3 separate regions of the Homo sapiens genome follow, and all the other regions are linked to region 1. Evidence: promoter capture Hi-C in 16 types of primary human blood cells and fetal thymus (Javierre and others, 2016). All regions are on one chromosome and are shown on one strand. The core of a region is centred on a gene start or on the middle of the fragment in contact, and the rest is flanking DNA. Distances in the headings are between cores, read along the strand shown.

Evidence for each region. Contacts are between HindIII fragments. The CHiCAGO score rates a contact against its expected background, and 5 or more counts as called.
Region 2: a contact is called between a fragment that was not itself captured here and the fragment with the promoter of KCNQ5 in region 1, in 1 of 17 cell types (erythroblasts). The highest score is 5.2, in erythroblasts.
Region 3: a contact is called between a fragment that was not itself captured here and the fragment with the promoter of KCNQ5 in region 1, in 1 of 17 cell types (megakaryocytes). The highest score is 5.4, in megakaryocytes.

The regions. Positions count from the first base shown.
Region 1 is chr6:72,620,167-72,623,665 of GRCh38, reverse strand. It overlaps KCNQ5 (potassium voltage-gated channel subfamily Q member 5), which reads right to left and starts at 1,602. Exons shown (of 14, transcript NM_019842.4): 1 at 1,079-1,602. The coding sequence starts at 1,476. KCNQ5-DT (KCNQ5 divergent transcript) reads left to right here and starts at 987. Exons shown (of 3, transcript NR_186827.1): 1 at 987-1,134. RefSeq lists silencers at 268-317, 1,348-1,607 and enhancers at 1-917, 3,028-3,217. The HindIII fragment of the contact is 6,363 bases long and covers 1-2,646 here.
Region 2 is chr6:72,910,386-72,913,884 of GRCh38, reverse strand. All of the region lies in intron 1 of KCNQ5 (potassium voltage-gated channel subfamily Q member 5), which reads right to left. Among named protein-coding and RNA genes, the nearest start is that of MIR4282, 56 kb to the left of the region's middle. The HindIII fragment of the contact is 152 bases long and covers 1,724-1,875 here.
Region 3 is chr6:72,888,232-72,891,730 of GRCh38, reverse strand. The region is part of intron 1 of KCNQ5 (potassium voltage-gated channel subfamily Q member 5); the gene reads right to left. Among named protein-coding and RNA genes, the nearest start is that of MIR4282, 78 kb to the left of the region's middle. The HindIII fragment of the contact is 1,395 bases long and covers 982-2,376 here.

The sequences.
Region 1 (3,499 bases), core at 353-2,852:
AAGCAAAAGGAGAAGAGGAAGAAAAAAAGAATTAGACACGAGGTAACATTATAAAAACAACCTTAAAATGCCCAGATAAACGTAACTCTAATAGGAGACTGAATGAATGGACTTTGTGGGAAAAACAGTAGTAAACTTTAAAGCCACTGAAAGGTTTTAAATGCCTAAGGGAAAAATAAACATTTGCTTCCAATCATTTTCTCATTAAGCATTCTCTGCTAGATGGAGAAGGCTTACTACACACACACACACACACACACACACACACACACACTCTTTGACTCCGCGCCACAAACGGGGACTTAACCCACTGCCCGATCTCTGTCAGAGGCGACCCATTTGCGCTTCTGCTATCGCACCTCCGCCCGCGTTCCTGCGCCCCAGGTTCCCCGCTGCCTCCCCGCCCCCTGCAGCGCGGGAGCGTTGCTTCGCCTGGCCTGCTGGCCTCCTCTAGACCTTGGCCACCTTCTCCGTGGCAGGAAGGGCTACATGCACTGACAGATTTTCCGTTGGTGGTGGCTGGGTGGTGGCGAGGCGTGTTTCCGGGCGCGCTTAAAACCTAGCAGCTCTCTCCAAGTAGCAGCTTCCCCTACTCCGCCCCTAGGACTGAGGACCTAGCCCTCGATGCCCCCTCACTTCTCCCCGTCCTACCCCGCCATCACCTCCTAACCTCTCCAGTATACTCTCAAGCCTCACACGGGCGCCTGTCCTCCCTTTGCATTCCCTAGCTCCCGGGCGCCCCGTTCGGTTGAAGTTTACGTATCTTGGGACCTAATTGCTCCCAATTATCCGCGCAGCCTAAGTCCCGCGTCTGCCTGGCTCTCGCCCCGGGAGCCTGAAGCTACCGGGCAGTTCATTGGGTGTCCTCGGGGAAAAGGTTCAAGCTGTAGAGATGAGAGAAGTGGGGCTGGGGGAGGGGAGAGGCTCCAGAAGGAAGACCACGAACACGTGCGAAGAAATAAAAGCCACCACGTGTGCACGCGCGCGGGGGCCCAAGGGCGCGAGCGCGGAGCACGCCCCAGGGGGCCAGGGACAGTGGTCCCCTGCAGCGGGCATAGCAGGGGGCGCGGGTACTCACACGAAAGCGTGGTAGATGAACGCCCAGCCGCGGGGTCTCTCCAGCACGTTGTACAGGTAGTTCTGCACCCGCCGGTACTTGACGTTGCGCCGGCAGCTCTGGCTACTCGTGTAAGAGAGCGGCTTCCCCAGCAGGCTCATCCGGGCCCCCTGCTTGCCCCGGCGGCTCTCCCTCAGGCCACCGCCGCCGCCACCGAGCGTGGCCGCGCGGGTGCCCAGCAGTAGCAGGCCGTCGCCCCTGGCGGCTGCCGAGTTCAGCAGCACCCTGCCCCGGCCGGACTCCACATCCTTCATGCCGCTGCCCAAGCGCCCCCCGCCCGCCGCCGCCGCCGCTGCGCCGCTCTTCACCCAGAGCCCGGCGGCGCCGCCCTCCTCTCCTCCCGCGTGGTGGCGGGGCATGGCATCACCACGGGCACCGCGAGGGGGCCGCCAGCGCCTGCGGCGGGGGCAGCGGCCTCATGTGCGCCGGCGGGTTTCAAGGAGGAAGCCGGCGGCCGACGGGGCGCCCGCCAGCCAGAGACCTCTGAGCCGGGGGCGGGGAAGCAGGCAGCCAGCAAACCGCCCGGGCTTCGGGGCGGGAAAGGAGGGGCTGCAGAGGAGGCCGAGGAGTCCCAATTTCTAACAGCCTTTAGCTTCGAATTCTAAATCCGGACCTGTTTGGGGCGTCACTTTGAGAGGGTTTCTCTTGCTCCCTCATTCCCGCGACTACCACTCCCTCCTTCCCAAACTGCCCCCGGGGATAGAGTGGGGGAGTGCGGGGCGCTCCGAGGCGCGCTCCCACGCGCGCACACCCAGCCCCAGGCTTCCCCTTCCCTCTCTCCACTCCCCACGCCCTGCAGCGAAACGGCCCCAGAAGCCCCTCTCCGAGGCGCGAGTTCGGTTTGGTTCTGGCAGGGGCTTTGCAGCTGTCCGGAAGGTGAAGTCAGCCTTGTGTCCTGAGGAGAAACTGGAGATGCAGGTCGCTGTGCCCTCCCGCTGCTACGTCGCTGCGCCGGATCCTGCCATCCTTCCGCAAGGGGTGAGAGCGGGAACAGCCCTGCCCTGCCTTCCAGGTATTATCTAGCCTGGAGGCTGGAGCGCAAGGTAACGCTCCGGGAAGTGGCACTCGGGTCCCCGCACACGGGCGAGTCCTCAGCAGTTCAGTGGACAGACCCGCAGGACGCGGCTGCCAAGTCCGCGAGGCAAGGACCAGGCATCTTCCCGCGCCTCACTCCAGCCTGCGGACTGTGACTTTCCATCCCAGTATCAGACAAGCTCGCGAGTAACTGAACATCCTTTCCAGTCCATGGGTGGGGTGTGGAAAGGGCGTAAAACTCCAAAGTGGCTCCTCCGCGGTGAGCGAGCTGCCCCGGGGCTCTGCCTGACTGCAGCGCGAAGCCTGGGAGAACAAACCCAGTTCCCTCCGTCAAGAAATTTCCATTTAAGTCCGAGAAAGTCATATGATTGAGAAGTTCAGCAGCGGCGGCGAGGACCCAGTGTCTGGGAAAGAACACCTGGAGGATGGGGTGTCCAGGACGCCGGCTTTTCGGGGTTCCGACCCCACCCACCTTATGTTGTAACATACAAGCTTAGAGACCTGTTGCAAGGAACAACTGACTGGGTCTTCCACCACCCCTGGCACCCGGGTGGCCCAAAGCCTATGCGCCCTTGGCGGAGAGAGAGGCCACGGTGCCACTGGCCGCAGCCTCTGGCCTTCAGAAACAGTGTATTACAAAGAAAAGGCAGTTTAAATCTCACATTCAGCATAGGGAAAACTGAAGGGTGCCAGGCTCGGGGACTTCTTCCAACAGAGTGGCTCTTCCCCAAATATGAAAGAAAATCATCAAATTAAATTGAAGGCAAAACTAAGCTTCCACCACAAAGACATAGCAGATAGTTGCAAGGTGGATTCCTTCGGGCCTTTTCCTTTCCTAAGGCTAAAACAATGCTAAGACAAAAGTCTTCTTGCAGCTGTCTCCGCCCCTCCGAGATAAATACTTTCCCAATTCTCCCCCACCCTGTACACACACCCACGCCCGCGGCAGCTGATTTCTGTCTTCTGCAATAGCTCGATTTAAATGCTTTGCTTTTACTCTTTATTATCACTATTATTTGTGTGAAGCCCTCTCGCCTGCTCCTGGTCACCAGCAGGAGCCTGCTTCCCTCCCTCCTTCCCCCCAAGCCTCTGGGCAGCAGAAGCTAGCTGGGAGCTCTGTGCAGCTGGCGGCGACGCCATGTGACTGTGAGCCGAGCACCATCACCCAGAGTCACTCTCTAGCTTTCCCCTAATACACTTCACACCCACGCACTGTGGAGGTGCGAGAGAGGTTGCTCCGTGCGGTGCTATTCGAGGCAGATGCAGAGAGCGCCCTGGAGTAAGCTCTCCAATCCTAGAGCTGCGCGGGACCCTGACTGAAGGCGGAGGGGGCGGGAGGGGGTGCTG
Region 2 (3,499 bases), core at 550-3,049, 290 kb before region 1:
TATTTCTCAGGACTGTCCACTCTTTATCAAACCTAAGCATAAAAATACACAACTTTACCTGTTTCATTTCTTTATGAAGGCTCTCATGTCATGAAAACTTACATTAAACGAATCTGTAAGCTTTCCTTGTTAATCTGTCTTTTCTTACAGGGGCCTCAGCCGTGACTCTAAGATGGGAAGAGAAGATATTTCCTTCCCCTACACTGTTTAAAATGTCTACAGATTTCACATGAGAACAGATAGACTTTACACAACTGTTGGTTAAGAAAACCCATAACAAAACACTACTGAAATGTGGTAATGCCTTGGAATGAATTTGTATTTTTCTAATCACAATAGTGTCTGTATACTTTTGAAAAGCAGCTGCATACATATGTAGGATACATAATACTGATTTTCTACAGTTAAGAGTGGACCCAGGACTCACACACCCCATGCCACAACTCAAAGTCTCCCATTGGTCCTCAGAATACAAATGGGAACCACTGCTCTAGGGAGTAGTTACGTTGACATGGTGCCACTTACTACCGTAAACTCTCATGATGATCTAGTGGCCTTGAAGATGTATTTTAGGTCTGAATTTCTGTAATTTTATCACAAGGGCTAACTTGAGAGTTCCCTAGTCTTGTTTAGCATCAACACTGCCATTGATTAAAATCTTACTGAAATCTACTTGTGGTGAAAAAATAGAAATTGGAAAGATACACCTAAAATTTCAAGCTATTATCCCAAATATTTTGAGTTATTATTTTTATCTAAATTAAATTAGGCTTAATGTATATATCATAAATGAGAATGCAGAAGTATGCACCATTAAAAAAACTTTCATTTTAAGTTCAGGGGTACATGTGCAGGTTTGTTACATAGGTAAATTTGTGTCATGGGGGATTGTTGTACAGATTATTTCATAACCCAAGTATTAAGACTAGTACCCATTAATTATTTCTCCTGATCCTCTCCCATCTCCCACCTTCCACTCTCTGAAAGGTCCCCATGTCCTTTTAAAGGAAGTTAATAAAGTCTTCCAAGTAATAATATAGAATTCAAATAACACCATTGTGATTATCTCTGAGCATCTATTTAAAAATATTTCTGCCTATCTAATGTTTTTAAATACAACAAAGATAGCATTGGAGAACTTTTTTATTTGATACAACGGTCATGAAGATTCATTCCTTTTATGTGTCTAACATTGTGCTAGACTTAAAAGAAAATAAATAATCAAATGAAACTCATCAAGCACTTCTTTGGGATTGTGATTATTATACTAGGAGAATGCCAGATTCAGAAAAATTTGACAATTTGCCCATGGTCACCAAGCTAAAATATCCCATGACTTGAATTTAAACCCAAATTAGTATGGTAACAAAGCCTGAGCATTTTGCATTACACAAGGCTAGAAACCTCTCTGATAAATGAACCAAAAAGGAAAACAGTAGTTGTCAGTGCTGGTAAATCACAAACAGCTCTGACACTAAGCAAGGAGGACCCTGGATTAACAAGAAGGTGAAAAGCTTTATTCTCTAGTGGAAGTATCTATAAATTCAGTAAACAGATCTAATCCATCGATGCTTACTACGAAAAAGTTATGAATTAATATGCCCATTAAGTTTTTTTTTGATTTACCTATATGTACATAGCCCTGTGCTACCACCACACATAATGCCCTCCAAGTAATTAACTATTTTCAGTGACAGTGAGTATACTGGATCCTATCCAAGCTTGATCTGCCAACATTTGGGATGACAATGGCATTGATTAAGGGAAACACTCCAATAACTCATCAGGTATGAATCTGCTTGCTCTTGTACTTTTATCCCCCAATCTCTTTGTCTCTTGGTTGTTAGTAACTAGAACGCTTATATATTTGAAGCTTGCAGTGAAGAATGAGAGCAGAAATGTGCACTGCCAAAGGGGAAATCAGAAAATAAATGGGCAAGCCTCCAGACCACAGAAGCCATCAGCAAAACTGCCAGTTCAGAGGTAATGCAACTTTAGTGGTGAAAGAGTACAATATCTTTAAAGAAGAAAAACTGCTAAAAGGAAAATGCTATCTTGGCAAACAAAATAAAAAACTTTGTCTTTACTCCGGATTTGGACACACCATAAAAACATAGGATGTTCTTAGTTCTGCACACTTGCATTAAACACTTAATCCTAATGCACACTCACTGACAGCTACCATGCTGGCCCCAGTGATGCCTTCTCCTGCCTGGATTTCTCAACAGCATCATAATTGGATTTTCTGCTGTCATACATACTCAACAGTTATTCATTTGTCATCTCCTATTTGCCAAGCACTATTCTAGGCATTGGTCTTACTACTCAGCCCCTTCCCACTTGTCTTAAGTCAGTTTGGGCTACTTAACAAACCACCATAAACTGGTGGCTTGCAAATGATGGAAATTTACTTCTCACAGTTCTAGAGGATGAAAATCTAAGATCAGGGTGTCAGAATGGTGGGGTTCTGGTGAGGCCCCCTTCCGGGTTGCAGACTACCAACTTCTTATTGTAACCTCACATGGCGGAAAGAGAGGCTAGCTAGCTCTCTGGCCTCTTTTCATAAGGACATTAATAACATTCATCAGGGCTCCACCCTAATGGCTTAATTACCTTCCAAAGGCCCAATCTCTTAATACCATCACATTGGGAGTTAGGATTTCAACATAAATTTGGGGTTGGGTGTCATAAACATTCTGTCCTTTGCACCACTCTTTCTCCATTCCGTACATTTAAGCCAGGAGGATTCTTCCAAAACATAAATCTCGTCTTGTCATTTTCTTGCTGTAAAGCCTTCATCGGCTTTCCATTGCCCTTGGGATACAGTTAAAAACTTCTTGGTTAGTATAGCTAACAGAGCTGTTCACAGCCTGACCTGGGCTTCATCTGGAGTCATAGGCACAGGCCCTGTGTGTGAGCTTCTTTGCTCAGGCCTCTCTTTCACTTATCCTCCCTTGCAAGTGTCTAAAACAACATGTATCTTCCATTTATGGGTTCTTGTGGTGGTCAGCTGATATGAAGCTGATAAATCCCTATACCTGTTTCCGTGCTGCTCATAGAGTGAGTACCAAGTCAGATTCATGCTTCCCTCTTTATATATAAATTGATACCTATGTTCACTTTTATCCTCTTTCGGTTTCTTCTTTATGTAGTTATCCAGAGACACAGCAACAAAATTTAGAGTGCAAGGGTATTTGAGTTAGAAGAGAAGGAGGTCCAGGTAAGAAGTGATAAAGTATGGGTAAAGAATAGTACACAGAAGTCAATAATTTATCAGCCACACACACACACACACACACACACACACACACACACACACACCCCCCTACCTTTCCATTCTATAAGAGTTACTATAATTGAAAAGGTTTAGGTTTATGAATGTGTACACACTAATGGCTAATCGGGTGAAGAATGATAGGTAAGAGAATGGTCCATAGGCAGCAGTAGAAAAAATGCAATTCTTATAATATTCAATATAAGCATTATATGCACTGGCAAA
Region 3 (3,499 bases), core at 430-2,929, 270 kb before region 1:
TATATATTTCTTTATTTTAGGAAGGATTAAACAAGATGGTAGAGTTGCACCTTAGGTGGCACTGAATTCTAACATCGGTGCATAAATTATGCAACTCCATTATTTTTGAGGCATTCATTACATGACTGTAGATTATGTAACCATTTTGGGGGGCATATGGAGCAGGCAATTTTAGTTATATGGTGTTTTCTTTAAGTCACTTTAATTTGTCACCTTTTTCTAGGCTTTTTAGCCATGGTTAATAGTGATAGTAATCAGGTAAGAGTATTAAAATCATAGGTGATCTGGGTATGAAGGATCCTTTATCCACATATCTTCATTCATATATTGATAATTCTCTAGAATATCTGAATTGACACTTTTTGAGTATGTTCATCCAACCATTTACACATCCAACCATTTACACATACTCAAGTGTAGAATTGAATAAATGAACATTTTCTGAAGACTTTCATGTTAGATTTTGTCAACTACTTTACTGAAATCTGAATTTAACTGTGCAATACTAGCATTATGGACATAGTAAATCTGTCAAACAAGGAATTAAAGTAAGAGTAATGTGATTTGTTATTGGTGAGCACAGACAGGATCCCAAGGACACTTGCTTTTCAAAGTACTCATATACCCACCTATTAAATCCATTCTGGAATATTGCTTTTGATCAATATGAAGCTTGTTGGCTCTTGAAATTGCCTAACATAGTAGAATCAACAATAAAATTTGTCTGTCTCTAGTCTTCCAGCACCTTTCCCATTTCCCAAAATTCTTCCACAACAGTGGACAATAATTTGTTAATCTGATTTAGGAGTTTTGCAGATACTTGGATAGAGTTCATTCCATTCCAATTACTGGAACTCCCTTGGGAGGGCTACATGTTCTCTTTACAAGGGCCAGATGTTTGGTGTCAATCTTGATGTTCACAATTCTTTCTACTGTCTTCTGATATGATATGCTTATGTGATGTGGGGCTTTTGCAAAGCTTGTCACTGGGACCTCCACTTTACTTTTAGTTAAGACACAAAGGTTTTTATCTGATAATTTATGAAATACAAATCTATTTCGATCAAGAATAAGAACCTCGGCAAGATGGTTTTGATCCTGGTGTGTCCTACTATTCCATCCATTCTCAAATGGTGCCAGTGGTGGCACAATTCATGACCACTAGGCACACAACCTCCCATAGCAGCAGCCACTGCCACACACCACAACCCCACTGCTATTCTCAATGACTTGTTTTAATGCAACCTAATAACTTCCCCCACAAACAGCTCTTTCATGTATAGAGTTGCCACAGAAATGAAAAACCCTATATACAGTTTCAGTCATACCAGATGAGTAAGTTCTAGAGATCTGCTGTACAATATAGTACCTATAGTTAACAATATGGCATCGTACCCTTTAAAGTATGTTAAGAGGATAGAGCTCATGTTACTTGCTCTTATCACAAAGCAAAACAAAACCACAAAAGAACACAAGGTAATTTTGACAGGTGATGAATATGCTTAGTATGCTGATTATGGTGATGGTATCACAAATATGTACATATGTCCAAACCCATCAAAATGTATATATTAAATATATGCAATTTTAAATATATCAATTATGTTTCAACAGAGCTTTTCTAAAAAGAGAAACAAACAACCCTGCTTCAAAGCTAATCCTGCCCTCCTGGGCAGAGGGCACTGTGACTGCTCGCTGAGGGTAAATAGACATCTTCTTGGGAGGCTGGGCACCTTCCAAGCACCATTCAGCTCTGACTGAATTCAGTTCTCTCTGCCTTGTACCCTACATATTCATGGAGGTTTCTGCATATAGGGCTGCAAACAGCCACACTGCCCTTAGCAAATGTCCAAGAAGGCTTGGGGGCTTTTAAAAATTTATTATTGATACATAGTGGATGTACATGTTTTCTAGGTACATGCAATATTTTGATATATTCATATAATGTCTAATGATCAAATCAGAGTAATTCAGAAATCCATCAACTTAAAAATTTATCTTTTCTTTATGCAGGGGGGACTTATTTAAAAAATTGTAGCTTACCATTTGGTAATTGACTAAAATATTTCTGTGTTCTCTTCTTTGTGCCACTGAAACCTGATAGACTGATTTTGCTGCTGAATTGAGATAAAACTATAGTTTCTAGCATGGCGCTTGGCACATAGTAGATGCTGAGTCAAGGTGAGTTTGTTTCTCTTACCATGGCCTTGGTGGTACTGCTTCATTTTATACCTTCAATAATCAGAGATGGCAAGAAAGGAGGGTGGAAGGTGAAGGGAGAATGTAAGTCTTTACTTGAATACATTTCAGGCTATTCCTAATACACACTATAAATGCATCAGTTATATGCTGTTGAGTAGCTCTCTGATCAAAGCTTCCCAGTGGCTTCCGAGGCTCCAAGGTCCTATCTAATCTGCTTCCCCTCTGCCTCATTCTGTTCCAGCCACAGTGACTTCCTTGATGTTCTTCAACACACCAAGCACAATCACACTCCAGGGTCTTTAACTTTATTGTTGCTGCTGCCTGGAATACTGTTCATTCGATATTTGCATGGTTTTTTCCTTACTGCATTCAAGTCCTAGTTCAGATATTTCCTTAGCAAGGTTCCCTCATGACACCTAAAAATTGTAATCTTTTCTTTGCTCAGGCACTGTCCATCTCCCTTACTCTCTTTTATTTTTCCATAGTATTTACTAATCTTTAATGTCCTATATAACTTACTTATGTGGAATGTTTATTGTCTGTATCTTCCTATACATATACAAACACACAGAGACACAGACACATAGATGTACATACAGACTGTGGGCTCCATGAAGATAGGGAATTTTTTCTTCTGCGCACTGCTGTATCCCCAGTGCCTATAAAAGTATGCTTGGAAGTAGTAGTTTGCACAATAAATATTAAATGAATTAAAAAATGTGAATGAAGGACTACTCAGGAATGCAACATGGCAGAAAAGTAAGACACCCCTATATTTGGCCAAGTGATGGGTATTCACTAACACTTAGTGGAACTGGAAATTTATTATCTGGGCATTACAAAGAGCAGTAAGGCCCAGGTCATGTGGACTGACATTTGGTTTTACAGTCGTTGTCACTACTTTATGGTCCCCCAATTCTGAGACCAGAAACATGTATGGTTCATCGCAAATGCAGTCTGGATCCCTTCTAAGCCATTATGCTCAGCACCACCAGAATTACTGGTCTCAAAGTAAAATTTGACTATGACTCTTGTCCGCTTAAGGTTCTTCAGTGATTTTCTGCATTTTTCAAGATAAAGTCTAACAGTGCATAAAACTAGTATGCTAGTTCTTCATTTACTCCTCATTATTACAGGCCCTCTGTGCACAGCGTCATATTAAAGTACTTGCAGTTTCTCAAAAATGCTATGTTCTCTGCTTTTGTAAACTTGTTTCCTTTATCAATTCTACCCTATTTATTTTGCCAACTTCCGCATCTTTGAGTCCCAATACAGGTTTCATCATTTCCGAAAAACC